Regions from separate parts of the Homo sapiens genome. Here region 1 is linked to region 2. Evidence: promoter capture Hi-C in human tissues and cell types (Jung and others, 2019). All regions are on one chromosome and are shown on one strand. The core of a region is centred on a gene start or on the middle of the fragment in contact, and the rest is flanking DNA. Distances in the headings are between cores, read along the strand shown. Region 1 overlaps ZAN (zonadhesin). Region 2 holds the start of EPO (erythropoietin).

Evidence for each region. The method cuts DNA at HindIII sites, captures the fragments that hold promoters and counts their contacts. A contact is called where the count stands out against the background at its distance.
Region 1: a fragment that was not itself captured here is called in contact with the fragment with the promoter of EPO in region 2 in 5 of the 25 tissues and cell types used here (H1 embryonic stem cells, small bowel, spleen and 2 more).

Annotation. Positions count from the first base shown.
Region 1 is chr7:100,759,908-100,767,291 of GRCh38, reverse strand. It overlaps ZAN (zonadhesin), which reads right to left. Exons shown (of 48, transcript NM_003386.3): 19 at 6,756-6,901; 20 at 4,934-5,077; 21 at 3,376-3,486; 22 at 3,096-3,265; 23 at 1,738-1,940; 24 at 626-767; 25 at 35-282. Among named protein-coding and RNA genes, the nearest start is that of ZAN, 30 kb to the right of the region's middle. The HindIII fragment of the contact is 7,390 bases long and covers 2,018-7,384 here.
Region 2 is chr7:100,718,056-100,724,919 of GRCh38, reverse strand. It overlaps EPO (erythropoietin), which reads right to left and starts at 4,452. Exons shown (of 5, transcript NM_000799.4): 1 at 3,927-4,452; 2 at 3,217-3,362; 3 at 2,872-2,958; 4 at 2,077-2,256; 5 at 1,220-1,942. The coding sequence starts at 3,939. The coding sequence ends at 1,787. RefSeq lists a silencer at 1-89. The HindIII fragment of the contact is 31,866 bases long and covers 1-6,864 here.

The DNA.
Region 1 (7,384 bases), core at 4,463-6,962, 41 kb before region 2:
TTCAGGGTCCAGGAGGCAGGAGGAAGACACCCACCATGACCTTACAGCCTCTGAGCAGTGAGATGCTGAGGTCAAAGACTGTCACGTGGACGGCTTTGATGTAGGAGACCTCCAGGATCCCCCCGCGGTTCTCGTTGGTGGCGCTCACAACAAAATAGCTGTCTTGGGACCTGGACCAGCAAGGCCGGGTCAGGACATAGGTGCAGGTGCCCATGAAGTGGTGCAAGGCGCCATCGAAGGTCAGGTAGTGGGGGTCACCCGAGGCTGTGCAGGTGGCGGCACCTGTGGAGAAGAAGATGGAGTTCACAGTCTCACTCCTCCATGCCCCGGAAGCTTTGACTCAGAGCTGCCATCCTGGAGAGCCCACATTGGCATGGTCCCCACGGCCCACCCACAGATGTGGTGTTTCCCTAGGAAGTGTGGTTGGCTTGGCTTGGAGCTGCCTAAGAGAAACACTGACGTCCCCAACCTCACCCTTTGGGTCCCTGAAAATGCTGCCCCTGCTGCCCCTCCCAGGCCCTGGTGGAGACTCAGCTGTCTGGGGAAGCTGCTTTGGGCAGGACCCATCACCTTGCCTGGTGTTGCCTGGGCAGCCCCCAGCTCACCTTCCACCCTGATGGCTCACCTTGGGCATGGCAGCCATAGATACCATCCTGTTGGCCACAGAACTCCTGGGCCCTACACCTCCAGGGCTGGCAGCGAATTCTGTTGTTGCTTTCACAGACGCACAACTCTTTGCAGCCTGGCTTGTACCACCGCTCCCCTACCTGGGGAAGACAGCAGGGAAGGAAGAGAAAGTGTTTTTTTTTGCTTTGTTTTGTTTTTTCCCAGATCTGACACCAGAGCTCACCAGAGCTGTTCAGATCACTGGCTTAATAGTGGGGAGACATCCTCTCTTCCTGAAGCTCCGAGATTCGCTGCAAAAGCTTGGCATCCATTCGTTTTTTCAGTCACTACATCATTTCTGGGTCTGTTCATCATTTCAACCAAAATTGATCTATCCGAGGCCAGGTGTGGCGGCTCACGCCTGTGATCCCAGCACTTTGGGAGGCCAAGGCGGGTGGATCACTTGAGGTCAGGAGTTTGAGACCAGCCTGGCCAACATGGAGAAACCCCATCTGTACTAAAAATACAAAAATTAGCCTGGCGTGGTAGTGCACGCCTGTAATCCCAGCTACTTGGGAGGCTTAGGCGGGAGAATCGCTTGAACCTGGGAGGCGGAGGTTGCAGTGAGCTGAGACCGTGCCACTGCACTCCAGCCCGGACAACAGATCGAGACTCTGTCTCAAAAAAAAAACAAAAACCAAAAACAACAACAAAAAACCAAAAAACAAGGGCCAGGCATGGTGGCTCATGCCTGTAATCCCAGCACTTTGGGAGGCCCAGGTGGGCAGATCACAAGGTCAAGAGATCAAGACCATCCTGGCCAACATGGTGAAACCGCCCCCTACCCCGTCTCTACTAAAAATACAAGAATTAGCTGGGCATGGTGGTGCATGCCTGTAGTCCCAGCTACTCGGGAGGCTGAGGCAGGAGAATCACTTGAACCCAGGAGGCGGAAGTTGCAGTGAGCCGAGATCGTGCCACTGCACTCCAGCCTGGCGACAGAGCAAAACTCCGTCTCAAAAACAAAACAAAACAAGAAACGAAAAGAAAAGAAAGAGCTTGCAGGGGGTGTGAGAGCAGGGAGCAGGCCCTTTCTAGCTGCAGGGCTGAGAGGTCCACGCAGCCGCTCACCTTGAAGTAGCTGCCTGCAGGGTGGAGGCACCCACACTGGGAGCGAGGTATGCACTCGAGGCCACTGAGGACGAAGCCCGGATTGCATTCACAGGCCTCCACGCACCGGTCTGAGCAGAACATGCCGGAGAATCCTGAATGGCAGGTGTCAGGGCATGGCTTCGCACACAGGGAGTACTTGCTGTTGGGCGGGCAGGCCATTGCTGGTGGAGGGAGAAGCTTGGGTGAGAAGGAGACGAACAAGCCACGGGGCTGGGTGGGAAACAGGAAGGACACGTTCGGAAGGGCCCCAGCTCCAGGCTTCTGGCCAATCTCGAGAAGAGAGAGTGACTGTGAGAAGCTTCCCCAAGGAGCCTGGCTGGCTCCCTGGGGCTGCAGGGCCAGCACTAAGGCGCCGGCCCTGAGAGACTTAGATAGACCTATGGTGGGAGCAGATGGACCCACCACTGGCAGCGCTGCTGTGTAGACATGCCCCAGGTGAGCTGTTGGCCCGCAGGGGACCGGGGCCACCTGTGAGGTCTGAGTCAGGGGATAGGCCTGCCCTAAAGCAGCTTCCCCAAAGAGCTGGGCCACACCAGGAGCTGGGAGGCAGCCTCGTTGCCTCCCCTGCCTAGGGCCTGTACCGTGTGCCTGCGTGTGATGACTTGGGCTGCACAGAAACACTTTTTTTTTTTTAAAGACAGAGTTTCGCTCTCACTGCCCAGGCTGTAGTGCAGTGGCGCAATCTCTGCTTACTGCAACCTCCACCTCCCGGGTTCAAGCGATTTTCCTGCCTCAGCCTCCCAAGTAGCTGGGATTACAGGCGCCCGTTGCCACACACAGCTAATTTTTGTATATTTATTTATTTATTATTTTTATTATTTTTTGAGATGGAGTCTCATTCTGTCACCCAGGCTGGAGTGCAGTGGTGCAATCTCGGCTCACTGCAACCTCCGCCTCCCAGGTTCAAGCAATTCTCCTGCCTCAGCCTCCAAGTAGCTGGGATTACAGGTACCCGTTGCCACACACAGCTAATTTCTGTATTTTTATTTATTTATTTATTTATTTTATTTTATTTTTTGAGATGGAGTCTCACTCTGTCGCCCAGGCTGGAGTGCAGTGGCGCAATCTCGGCTCACTGCAACCTCTGCCTCCCGGGTTCAAGCGATTCTCCTGCCTCAGCCTCCAGTGTAGCTGGGACTACAGGCATATGCCACCATGCCTGGCTAATTTTGGTATGTTTAGTAGAGACGGGGTGTTGGCCAGGCTGGTCCCAAACTCCTGATCTCATGATCCACCTGCCTCGGACTCCCAAAGTGCTGGGATTATAGGTGTGAGCCACCGTGCCCGGCCTCTCCTCTGAGTTTGGCACAACTCACGGCAGAAGTGGGGTTCCCTCCAGGGCTTCACAGCGTGGCCTGCGTCCTGGCAGGTGGTGGTCATGGTGGACATGTGTGTGCACAGCAGGTGCTGCAGCCCCTGGAATCCGCACATATCAAGCATGCAGCTGTCGAAGAAGGAAGCGGCCTTCACGTGCAGCAGGCATGTCCTGAGGGGAGTGACCAAGTCAGGGGGAATGCAGTGGAAGGGGGTAGAGCCTTGGAGGAGCCCAGGTGCCAAGCATCGCCCCTGTGCGACCCTGCCTGCCCTCCTTCATACTCAAATGGGCCATGAGTGTCGACCAGCCGTCCACAGAACCCTGGCCCCGACATGCTGCTCTGCAGAGATGAATCACAAGACGGGGAATTCACCACCTGGTACTTCTGACACCTGCAAGAGACCCACCCCAAACTCCCTAAAGACAAAGCTCGCTTCCAGCTCATCCCTAACCCAGCAGGCAGCAAGGCTGGCAGGCCGGGACCGGCAAACCAGCCTGTCAGCTGGGAAACCCCTCCCAGAGGATGTTTGACCACTGAGCCCTGGCCAGGCACTGTGGGAGGCCGAGGCAGGGAGAATTGCTTGAGCCCAGGAGTTCCAGGCCAGCCTGGGTAACACACTGAGATCCCATCTCTTTAAAAATAAATATGAAATTATTTATTTCATATTTCATATGGCGCACGTCCATAGCCCCAGCTACTCAGGAGGCTGAGGTGAGAGAATCTGTTGAGCCCAGGAGTTGGAGCCTGCAGTGAGCTGTGATTGAACCACTGCACTCCAGCCTGGGCGACAGAGCAAGGCCCTGTCTCTAAAAACAAACAAACAAACAAACAAAAAAGAATATTGAGCAACTGAAAGAACAACTTGAAGTCTCCAGGGTAGAGAGGAGAAAGGGGCAATGCCAGTCATTTTTTAAAGGGAGGGCACAGGCTGGGTGTGGTGGTGATGCCTGTAATCCCGGCATTTTGCATTTTGGGAGGCCAGGGCAGGTGAATCACCTGAGGTCAGGAGTTCGAAACCAGCCTGGCCAACATGATGAAACCCCGTCTCTACTAAAAATACAAAAATCAGACAGGTGTGGTGGCATGTGCCTATAATCTCATTGGGATTGAGGCGTGAGAATCACTTGAGCCCAGGAGGCAGAGGTTTCAGTGAGCTGAGATTGCACAACTACACTCTAGCCTGGGTGACACAGCAAGACTCCATCTCAAAAAAAAAAAAAAAAACCGTTGGGGAGGGCCAGCAGCCTGGTCAACCCCCCATCTGGTGAGAACCCCATGTCTACCAAAAAATTTTGTTAAAGTTAGCTGGGCATGGTGTAGTCCAAGCTACTTGGGAGGCAGAGAAGGGAGGATTGCTTGAGCTCAGGAGTTTGAGGCTGCAGTAAGCCACGATCGTGCCATTGCACTCCAGCTTGGAAGACAGAGGGAGATCCCATCTCAAAAAAAAAAAAAGGGCGGGTGGAGGGCTGGACGTGGTGGTGTGGTGGCTCACACCTGTAATCCCAGAACTTTGAGAGGCCAAGGCAGGTGGATCACTTGAGGCCAGGAGTTTGAGACCAGCCTGGCCAGCATGGTGAAACCCCATCTCTACAAAAATACTAAAATTAGCTGTGTGTGGTGGCAGGTGCCTGTAATCCCAGCTACTCGGGAGACTGAGGCAGGATAATTGCTTGAGCCTGGGAGGCGGAGGTTGCAGTGAGCTGAGATCGCACCACTGCACTCCAGCCTAAGCGACAGAAGGAGACTCCATCTCAAAAAAAAAAAAAAAAAAAAAAAAGAGAGTTCCAGGAAGGGGACGGAACCTTCCCAGGGCCCCGGTGGGAGGGCTCCTTGCTCACTCCTGGTCCTCGTCCTGGTCCGTCTGCCAGCTGTTCCCCAGCTCCTCCTTGTCTCCTGCTGGGCTGCCGTCCAACTTCAGGTGGTCATTGTCACTGTTGCCGTCATAGTTCCCACACAAACCACAGAGTTTGCCAGAGTATGTGCTAGGGGAACAGGAGAGGAGCTGGCGTTAATGGAGAGAAGCAGCCTCGGTCCTCGAGGGGCAGTGGCAGAGAAGGCAAGGAGCTGGGATCCTAAAACAGAGGGCGTGAGGAGGATGAAGAGGTGCGGACTGGACAAGAGGACCCCATGGCCCTCCCCCAAGCCTCCTTCCCCTCTGTTCATTGTCCAGCCACAGCAAACCCCTTGCTGGCCCTAAAACACTCCCACTTTATTTATTTATTTATTTATTTATTTATTTATTTATTTATCCTTTTTTTCAGATGGAGTCTCTCTCCGTCACCTAGGCTAGAGGGCAGTGGTGCAACCTCGGCTCACTGCAACCTCCACCTCCCGGGTTCTAGTGATTCTCCTGCCTCAGCCTTCCGAGTAGCTGGGATTACAGGCACACACCACCACGCCCAGCTAATTTTTTTGTATTTTTAGTAGAGATGGGGTTTCACCATGTTGGCCAGGCTGGTCTCAAACTCCTAATCTGCCTGCCTTGGCCTCCCAGAGTGCTGGGATTACAGGTGTCAGCCACCGTGCCTGGCCAAATTATTTATTTATTTTTTTATTTATTTTAGAGATAGGGTCACCCTCTGTGGCTCAGGCTGGAGCACAGTGGTGCAATCTCGGCTCACTGCAGCCTCCAACTCCTGGGTTCAAGCGATTCTCCCACCTCAGCCTCCTGAGTAGCTGAGACTACAGGCAAGTACCACCACGAGAAGCTAATTTTTTTTTAAGAGACAGGATCTCACTATGTTGTCCAGGCTGGTCTGGAACTCCTGGCCTCAAGTGATCCTCTTGCTTCGGCCTCCCAGCATGCTGAGATTATAGGTGCAGGCCACTACGCCTGGCTAATATTTAAATTTTTTTGTGGAGATATGGTCTCACTATGTTGCCCAGGCTGGTCTGGAATTCCTGGCCCCAAGGGATTCTCCCGTCTCAGCCTCCCAAAGTTCAGGGCTACAGGCGGGAACCCCTGCACCTGGCCTCTATAAAGTATTTTTATAAAGTCTTTCTTTCGCCGGGCACAGTGGCTCCCCTGTAATTCCAAGACTTTGGGAGGCCGAGGCAGGAGGATCGCCTGAAGTCAGGAGTTCGAGACAAGCCTGGGCAACATGATGAAATCCCATCTCTACTAAAAACAAAAATTAGCTGGGCATGGTGGTGTGCGCCTGTAATCCCAGCTACTTGGGAGGCTGAGGCAGGAGAATTGCTGAACCTGGGAGGCAGAGGTTGCAGTGAGCCGAGATAGCACCACTGCACTCCAGCCTAGGGAACAGAGCGAGAGATCCTGTCTCAAAAAAAAGAAGAAGAAGAATCTTGCTTTCCCTTGTTTTGTCCATCTGGGGAGCCACTCTTCCTTCGAGAATGGGACCAGGTGACTGCCCTTCAGAAAGCCTCCAGAACTCACTAGTGCTCCTTCTAGCACATTCCCAAAGCATGTACATCCATCCTGCTATCTATCACATGCCCCGAAACCATTTTCTCCTGTCTCCTGGTCCAAAGGGATCCCTGCCACTTAAGCAGGGTGCTTCCCATCCGTGAATGCATAAAGGATCAAGTAGTGGTGCCAGGGATGGAAGGGGAGTGGGCAGGGTGGGCAGCAGGAAGAAGAGGCAGCAGGAAGAGGCAGCAGGAAGAAGTGGCAGCTGCCTGGCTGGGACACTGCCTTACCTGGACACAGTAACATACAGCTGCTGGTCACCATCCCATCTCACCCGCAAACCGAACTCCGTCTGCAGCTCCACAAACCGCCCGCTTGCACCCAGGAAGACGCCTTTAGAGGGTATGGCTGGGAGAGTAACTTGCTGACCCCCAACCTGGAAGGCAGGGCAGAGGCAAGAGACAGACAGAGCTGGGGGTCAAGGAGGACCCCAGCAGACTTTCATTTCCATAGCTGGGAGGCAGGACACCATCCACAGCGGCCTAACAATCTCATCCACCAGGAGTGGACTGGAGCTTCCTCACCACTGTTTTGTTTTTGTTTTTGTTTTTAGGAGACAGTGTCTTACTATGTTGCCTAGGCTGGAGTGCAATGGTGCAATCACAGCTCACTGCAGCCTCGACCTCCCAGGCTCCAGCAATCCTCCCACCTCAGCCTCTGGAGTAGAGGGGACAACAGGCAAGTGCCACCACACCAGGCTAATTTTTTCTATTTTTTAAGAGACAGGGTCTTGCTATCTTGCCCAGGCTGGCTTCAAACTCCTGGCCTCAAGCAATCCTCCCACTTTAGCCTCCCAAGGAGCTGGGATTGCAGGTCACTGTCTTGTTGAACCCCATCCGTGGAAAGGTTCAGGGATTGG
Region 2 (6,864 bases), core at 3,203-5,702:
CCTCAGATGATCCACCCACCTCAGCCTCCCAAAGTGCTGGGATTACAGGCATGAGCCACCGTGCCTGGCCTCCCATACAGTTTTATGACAGCTTTTGCTGTCTGCACAGGTCCCTCCTCAGTGGTCCTTTCCCGCTGAAGCATTATTTTTGAGAAGGAATCTGAAGTTGTGGTCAGAGTAAAGGGGAAAATGAGAAGTAGAAATCAAGAGTGGAAGTAGAGTTCATTTGTTCCATGTCCCCCACCCCAGGGGAGTAAAGGAGCAGGTAGGGATTAGGTAGAAGGAATAAACCAGGCGCAATGGCTCACACCTATAATCCCAGCACTTTGGGAGGCTAAGGAGGGAGGATCACTTGAACCCAGAGTTTGAGACCAGCCTGGGCAACATAGCAAGACCCCATCTCTAAAAAAAATAAGATAAAAATAATTTAAAAATTAGCAGGGCATGGCGATGCATGCCTTTAGTCACATCTACTCATGAGGCTGGGACTAGAGGATTGCTTGAGCCCAGGAGTTTGAGGCTGCAGTGACCCATGATTGCACCACTGCACTCCAGCCTGGGCAACAGAGCAAGACACTGTCACTAAAAACAAACAAACAAACAAAATCACAAATATATAAATGGACCACCTAGAGTGGCCCTTGTCCCCGAGCAGATGCTGTTTATAGAGGTGGCTCCAACCGCACCTGTGTGTACCGCCCCTTTTGTGAATTTCAGAGGCGAGTATTCATGGTGACAGTCCCCAGGTGAGTAAAGGAGGCAGCTGGACTTAGCGAGGATGTGCATTGAGGCGGAAGGCTGATGCTGGGAGTGTGGCATCAGCCGAAGAGACCAAAGAAGAGGCAGAAATTAACAAGGGCCAGTGACCAGGGTTGGCAGCTGTTACCAGCCCCCAAAACTCCCAAAAGGACCCGTCCTCTGGCCTCCCTCTCCTTGATGACAATCTCAGCGCACTGCAGCCTTGCCCTGGGCAGGGTTGGCAGCTGCCTTACTGCGGTGAGGCCTTGAATGGAGCCACCTTATTGACCAGCGTAGGCAGAGCTTGTGGCCTCAGGCCCGGTAGGGTCGAGAGGTCAGACAGGCTGTGTGAGACAGCACGTAGGGCCCAGCCCCCTCCACCCCTCGTTTCCCGGACCTGGACCTGCTGCACTGCTGCCAGGAGTGGGACAGAGCCAGGGGATTTGGAGGTTCCCAGAAAACAGAAAAGCCAAGAGTCATATTGGTGGTTTCAGTTCTTGTCAATGAGGTTGAAGAATACACAAAACTTGGACCCCATGAGAGCCAGAGGCCAGCCCCCATCCTGTCTTCATGGTTCCCACCACCCCGGTGTCAAGGGGGCTCTTGCCACCAAGGGAGTGCCCATGCCCGTGAGACCTGGAGAAGTCACAGCTTGCCACCTAAGTTATCCAGGTCATCCTGTCCCTGATGGTAGGTGCGAAAACAGGTAAATCGCCTCCAAAGCGTGTCCTGGCATCAAATTTTGCAGGGTGCCGAGTGAGCTCAGGCGTCTTCCCAGCATGGCTCTGTCCCTGAGTTTAAAGCTGCTCTCTGAATGCTTCCTGCTCTGGGCCCTCAAGTTGGCCCTGTGACATCCTTAGATCTCAGAGTTGCTCTCTGGACAGTTCCTCTGGCCCCTGAGATGTCATTGCTGGCACTGGAGTGTCCATGGGACAGGCTGGCGCTGAGCTGAGAGCCCCTCGACGGGGTTCAGGAGTGGCGGGGGAGGGTGTGGCACAAGCAATGTTGGTGAGGGAGGTGGTGGATATGCCCAGGTGGACACACCTGGTCATCTGTCCCCTGTCCTGCAGGCCTCCCCTGTGTACAGCTTCAGCTTTCCCCGGAGGAAATTGGAGTAGACTCGGAAGAGTTTGCGGAAAGTGTCAGCAGTGATTGTTCGGAGTGGAGCAGCTGAGGCCGCATCTGGAGGGGAGATGGCTTCCTTCTGCCAAGGAGAAAACAGGAGGTCGCTGCAGTGCCACAGAAAGGGAAGGAATACGGACAGTTCCTGTACTCCTTAGCAAGACCCTTCTCCCCTTCTTACAGAAAGGGCAAGCAGAAGTGTCCGCTCCTACTCACCTGGGCTCCCAGAGCCCGAAGCAGAGTGGTGAGGCTGCGAAGGCCACTGACGGCTTTATCCACATGCAGCTGCAGGGGCTCCCACGGCTGGGAAGAGTTGACCAACAGGGCCTGGCCCCGCAGGACAGCTTCCGACAGCAGGGCCAGGCCCTGCCAGACTTCTACGGCCTGCTGCCCGACCTACAGGGAGTGGACTCTGGGAGTCAGCTGACCCATGTCACCCTCTCCCTCCTGCCCCTCAGCAGCCCCAAGCACCAAGCTGAGCAAACAGAAGGTATGCAATAAGACTTGTTGAATGAATGAATGAATGAATGAGTGAGTGAGTGAGTGAGTGAATGAATAATGAATGTATTCCATACAGCCCTCATTATTTTTCTTTTTTCTTTTCTTTTTTGAGACAGGGCCTCACTCTGTCACTGAGGCTGGAGTGCAGTGGTGTGATCACAGCTCACTGCAGCCTCAAATTCCTGGGCTCAAGCGATCCTCCCGCCTCAGCCTTCCAAATATCTGGGACTACCACCATGCACCACCTCACCTGACTAATTTTTTTAAATGTTTGTAGAGATGGGGGATCTCACTATGCTGCCTAGGTTGGTCTGAAACTCCAGGGCTCAAGCAATTCTCCCATCTCGGCCATCTCAGCCTGGGATTATAGACGTGAGCCTCTGCGCCCAGGCAGCCTCATCTCTGCTGCTCCATTTTACCTTTCCCTCGATCATTCTCCCTTTCATCCAAAATCAGGCTCGCAAATGAGATTCTCCAAAAGAAAGGAAAAAAAAAAAAAAAGGAACTCACCTCCATCCTCTTCCAGGCATAGAAATTAACTTTGGTGTCTGGGACAGTGATATTCTCATTCAAGCTGCAGTGTTCAGCACAGCCCGTCTGAAATGCACACAGCCCGGGGAGTCAAGGGTCCCTGAAGGCTCTGGCCCTGGCCCACAGGCCGTAGGATCTGCTGGCTTTGCTCCTTGCCTAGTTTCCAGGTATGGTTTGGGGCCACCAGACTTATTCTTATGTAGGGGGGCAGTGTCTAGCTTCCCAACTCCACCCCAAACCAAGTGCCAGGTTCCTGGATCTGGGAGGAGTTCCCTGAAGCCCTGAGCGTGAGTTCTGTGGAATGTGCTGGGGAAGGGGTCTCACCGTGATATTCTCGGCCTCCTTGGCCTCCAAGAGGTACCTCTCCAGGACTCGGCTGTCACAGATGAGGCGTGGTGGGGCGCCCAGGACTGGGAGGCCCAGAGGGAGCGACAGCAGGGACAGGAGAAGCCACAGCCAGGCAGGACATTCTAGAACAGATAGCCAGGCTGAGAGTCAGGCGGGGAGGGAGAAGGGTGGCTGTGGAAGGACAGCTTCCTTCATCCCCACGTCTCTGCCCCAGCTCGTCCTTCCTGTCCCCAACCATGCAAGCACTCAGGTGCTGCCTCCCTGGCCTTCATTCAATCCTGCTGCCGTGTGCACACCCCACCCCCAGCTACCAGCATCCACTTCTCCGGCCAAACTTCAATCCTGGTGTGACAGAGGCTTCCCCTCTGGCAGATAAGTGGTGGCTCCAGCGCCCAGGTTATCAGCTTATCAGCTTCCTCTCCACTGGCACAGCAGAACCCCCAAACCTTCTTCCCCTCAACCCCCAAACTGTGTCCCCTTCACAGGTCAGGTTTTTGCCATCCCCAAGGACTCCCCCAAGTCCCCGCTGGCACGTGGAGGCTGCCCCACCCCCCTCCCCCTTCCGGGGTCCTTGACAAGTCGCCGGTCCTTGAACCCAGCCACCTCCTGGCCAATAGCCGGGGCGCTAAATCCCCGCTCAAACAGGGACCCGGGCGGGCGGGAGCGCCCAGCCCGCGAGTACTCACCGTGCACCCCCATCTCCGCGCCTGGCCGGGGTCCCTCAGCGACCTGGGGCGCGCCGGGTGACCACACCGGGGGCCCTCATCCCGGGAAGCTCGGCGGTGCAGGGCCAGCCCCACGGGCCTGGAGGAGAGGGCGGCTGTCCAGGGGGCGCGGTGTCGGAGCAGAGCGGGCGCGGTGGCCCCGGTCCGGCTCCGGGAGGACAGCGCGGTGCGGCGCAGCGCAGCGAGCGGCCGGGGTGGCCCAGGGACTCTGCGGCTCTGGCCGGGGGTCGGGGCTGTTATCTGCATGTGTGCGTGCGCGGGTGGGGGTGGGGGAGAGGCTGTGTGCGTGAGGGGTCGCCAGGGGTAGGGGCCACCCGGGGTCAGAGCAGGGGCAGGACGCCTGGGTTGAGGCTCGCCGGGGCGTGAGCGGGGCTGCTGCAGACGTGCGTGTGGGTCATGGGGGCTGCTCCCGGGCCCTGGGTCGCGGGAGGGGAGTGCAGCCGGTTGCGCACCCTTGGGACTGGCGGAGCGTGCTATCTGGGAAAGGCTGGGCTCCCGGACACCTCCCCTGGGGGGCATCCCGGTCTTGGGCGGAGACTCAGAGATGCCTGGGTTGCTGAGTTCCGCAAAGTAGCTGGGTCTGGAAGCCCAGAAGCTTTAGGGAGGGGCAAATGAGTGGTCTCCCTTCCCACAATCCCAGGACATGTTCTAGAAACAATGTTGACCATGTTGAGGAATTTGATGGGGGCAAATAGGGCAAGAAATTTGGGGTTCTTCCTCCCCACCTCACTCCTCACCGTCTAGTACTCTGCAAACCCAGACACTTAACTTTTTTTTTTTTTTCTGGAGATGTAGCCTCCCTATGTTGCCCAGGCAGTGCAGTGGTGCCATCTCCCGTTCACTACAACCTCTGCCTCCTGGGTTCAAGCAATTCTCCTGCTTCAGCCTCTGGAGCAGCTGGGACTACAGGCACACCTTTACACCCGGCTATGTTTTGTATTTTTAGTAGAGATGGGGTGTTGCCATATTGCCCATACCGGTCTTGAACTCCTGACCTCAGGTGATCCACCCTCCTCGGCCTCTCAAAGTGCTGGGATTGCAGGCGTGAGCCACCGCACCCAGCCCCCACCCCAGACACTTAACTTTTAGTGCACAGAGCACACAGTCCATTGTGCAGGACACACATGCACCTTGACATCTGTTTATTTGACCTGTGGTGTAGGTTAGCTAGGCTGCATTGCTGAGTTCTTAAGAACACTGAAATACAGCTAACACCAAGAGTGATGGGGGCTGGGATTTACAGCTAAGGTTTTATGGCTTCTGGAAACCCTGAGCCAGAGGAGTGAGATTCCCAGAGCAGGAGACCAAGACTAGCTGGTCTCTCACACCTTAGAAAGTGGCCTCGTCCTTGAGCCCTCAATGTCCTCATCTGTCAAATGGGTGTGGTGAAACTACCAGCCTATCCCATTCAGGTTTCATAAAAGACAGGAAAGGTCCAGGCGCCGCAGCTGACACCTATAATCCCAGCACTTTGGGAGACCAAGGCAGGAAGATCCTTTGAGCCCAGGAGTTCGAGACCAGCCCGGACAACATGGCAAGACCTTGTCTCTAAAATAAATAAATAAATAAAAAATAATTAGTCAGGTGTGGTGGCTCACGCCTGTAGTCCCAAATATGCAGGAGGCTAAGGCAGGAGGATCACCTGAGCCCAGGAGTTCGAGGCCGTAGTGAGCCATGATCGTGCCACTGCACTGCAGCCTGGGCGACAGAGTGAGAGCCTGTCTCAAAAACAAAAAAAGACTGGAATGTGTAGATCTGAGCTGTAAGAGTTAGCCGGGAGAAATCAAGAAAGATTTGAGGGAGGAGGTGACAATGACCTCAGCCTTGAAGGGGGGTAGGACATCAATGGGAAGAGGTATGAGGTGGGTGGGGGATTGTCGATTCAGCAAAGTGAATGGAGAGTCAGGTGAGTATTGCGGGATCTGGCCAGCAGCCCGCAATGCAACAGGGCTCTCTCTTTGTTCCCAGGCGGATCAGCAGGTTGAGAAATAATAGACACACACAAGATAGTGAAAGCTGGTCCGGGGGGTCACCGCCTTCTGGTCCCGTGGTGTCAACAATGCACCAGATGTACCATCATTTATTATTAAGTTTAGTGAGGGCGGGGGTAGGTTAGTGAGGGATTTAGGGTCATTTGATTATGAGGTGAGATGGTCACATGGGGATGAATTAATTCTTTAACATAACATTTATATGTAGAAGTACAGTACATTTGTATGCAGAAGTACAGTATACAGAGATAAGAATTTACAATATAGTGTGTGCATCAGTAATTTCTAACAGAGCCTTAAAACAGAAACACAATCTTTCCATAACCTATGATTAGCAAGATACTAATCAGCAGTAACAATTGCAACAAAAGCTGGTTACAGACAATCCATGGAAACAGGACATGAAGCTAGACAACCAGTTAGACCAGAAATTCTCAGAAGGGAGTATGCCTTAACCCTAAAGAGGCCTAGAAGAGCCATGGCAAGATGAGGGCGTTTATAGCCCTATCTTATCCATATGGACAGGTGCCCCCCGCCCCCATGCGTCCGTTTATAGGCTCTCCACAAGGGTCGCATTCCATTCCCAGAGCTATGAACATCTGCTTTTCTGGGATAGAAATCTTGGTGATGTGAAACCTCCCTGACTGCAGGTCCGTTCATAGGCTCTCCGCAGGCGGAAGCACATCACAGGCTGTTGGCTCATTCTGGCAGTCCAACCTGGCATTGTTTGTACACAATCCTGCATGCAATTTTGTATTTACAATAATCAGGAGCATTTCATCTTTTATTCCGTAGCAGTAGTTTCAGGGGGTCTCCCTACAGGTGAGCAGAAGGGAAGATGGAGAAGAGAGAGGTGGAAGATGAGGCCAGGGTGCTGCTTAGGGAGGAGTCAGGCTGTCTATGGCCTT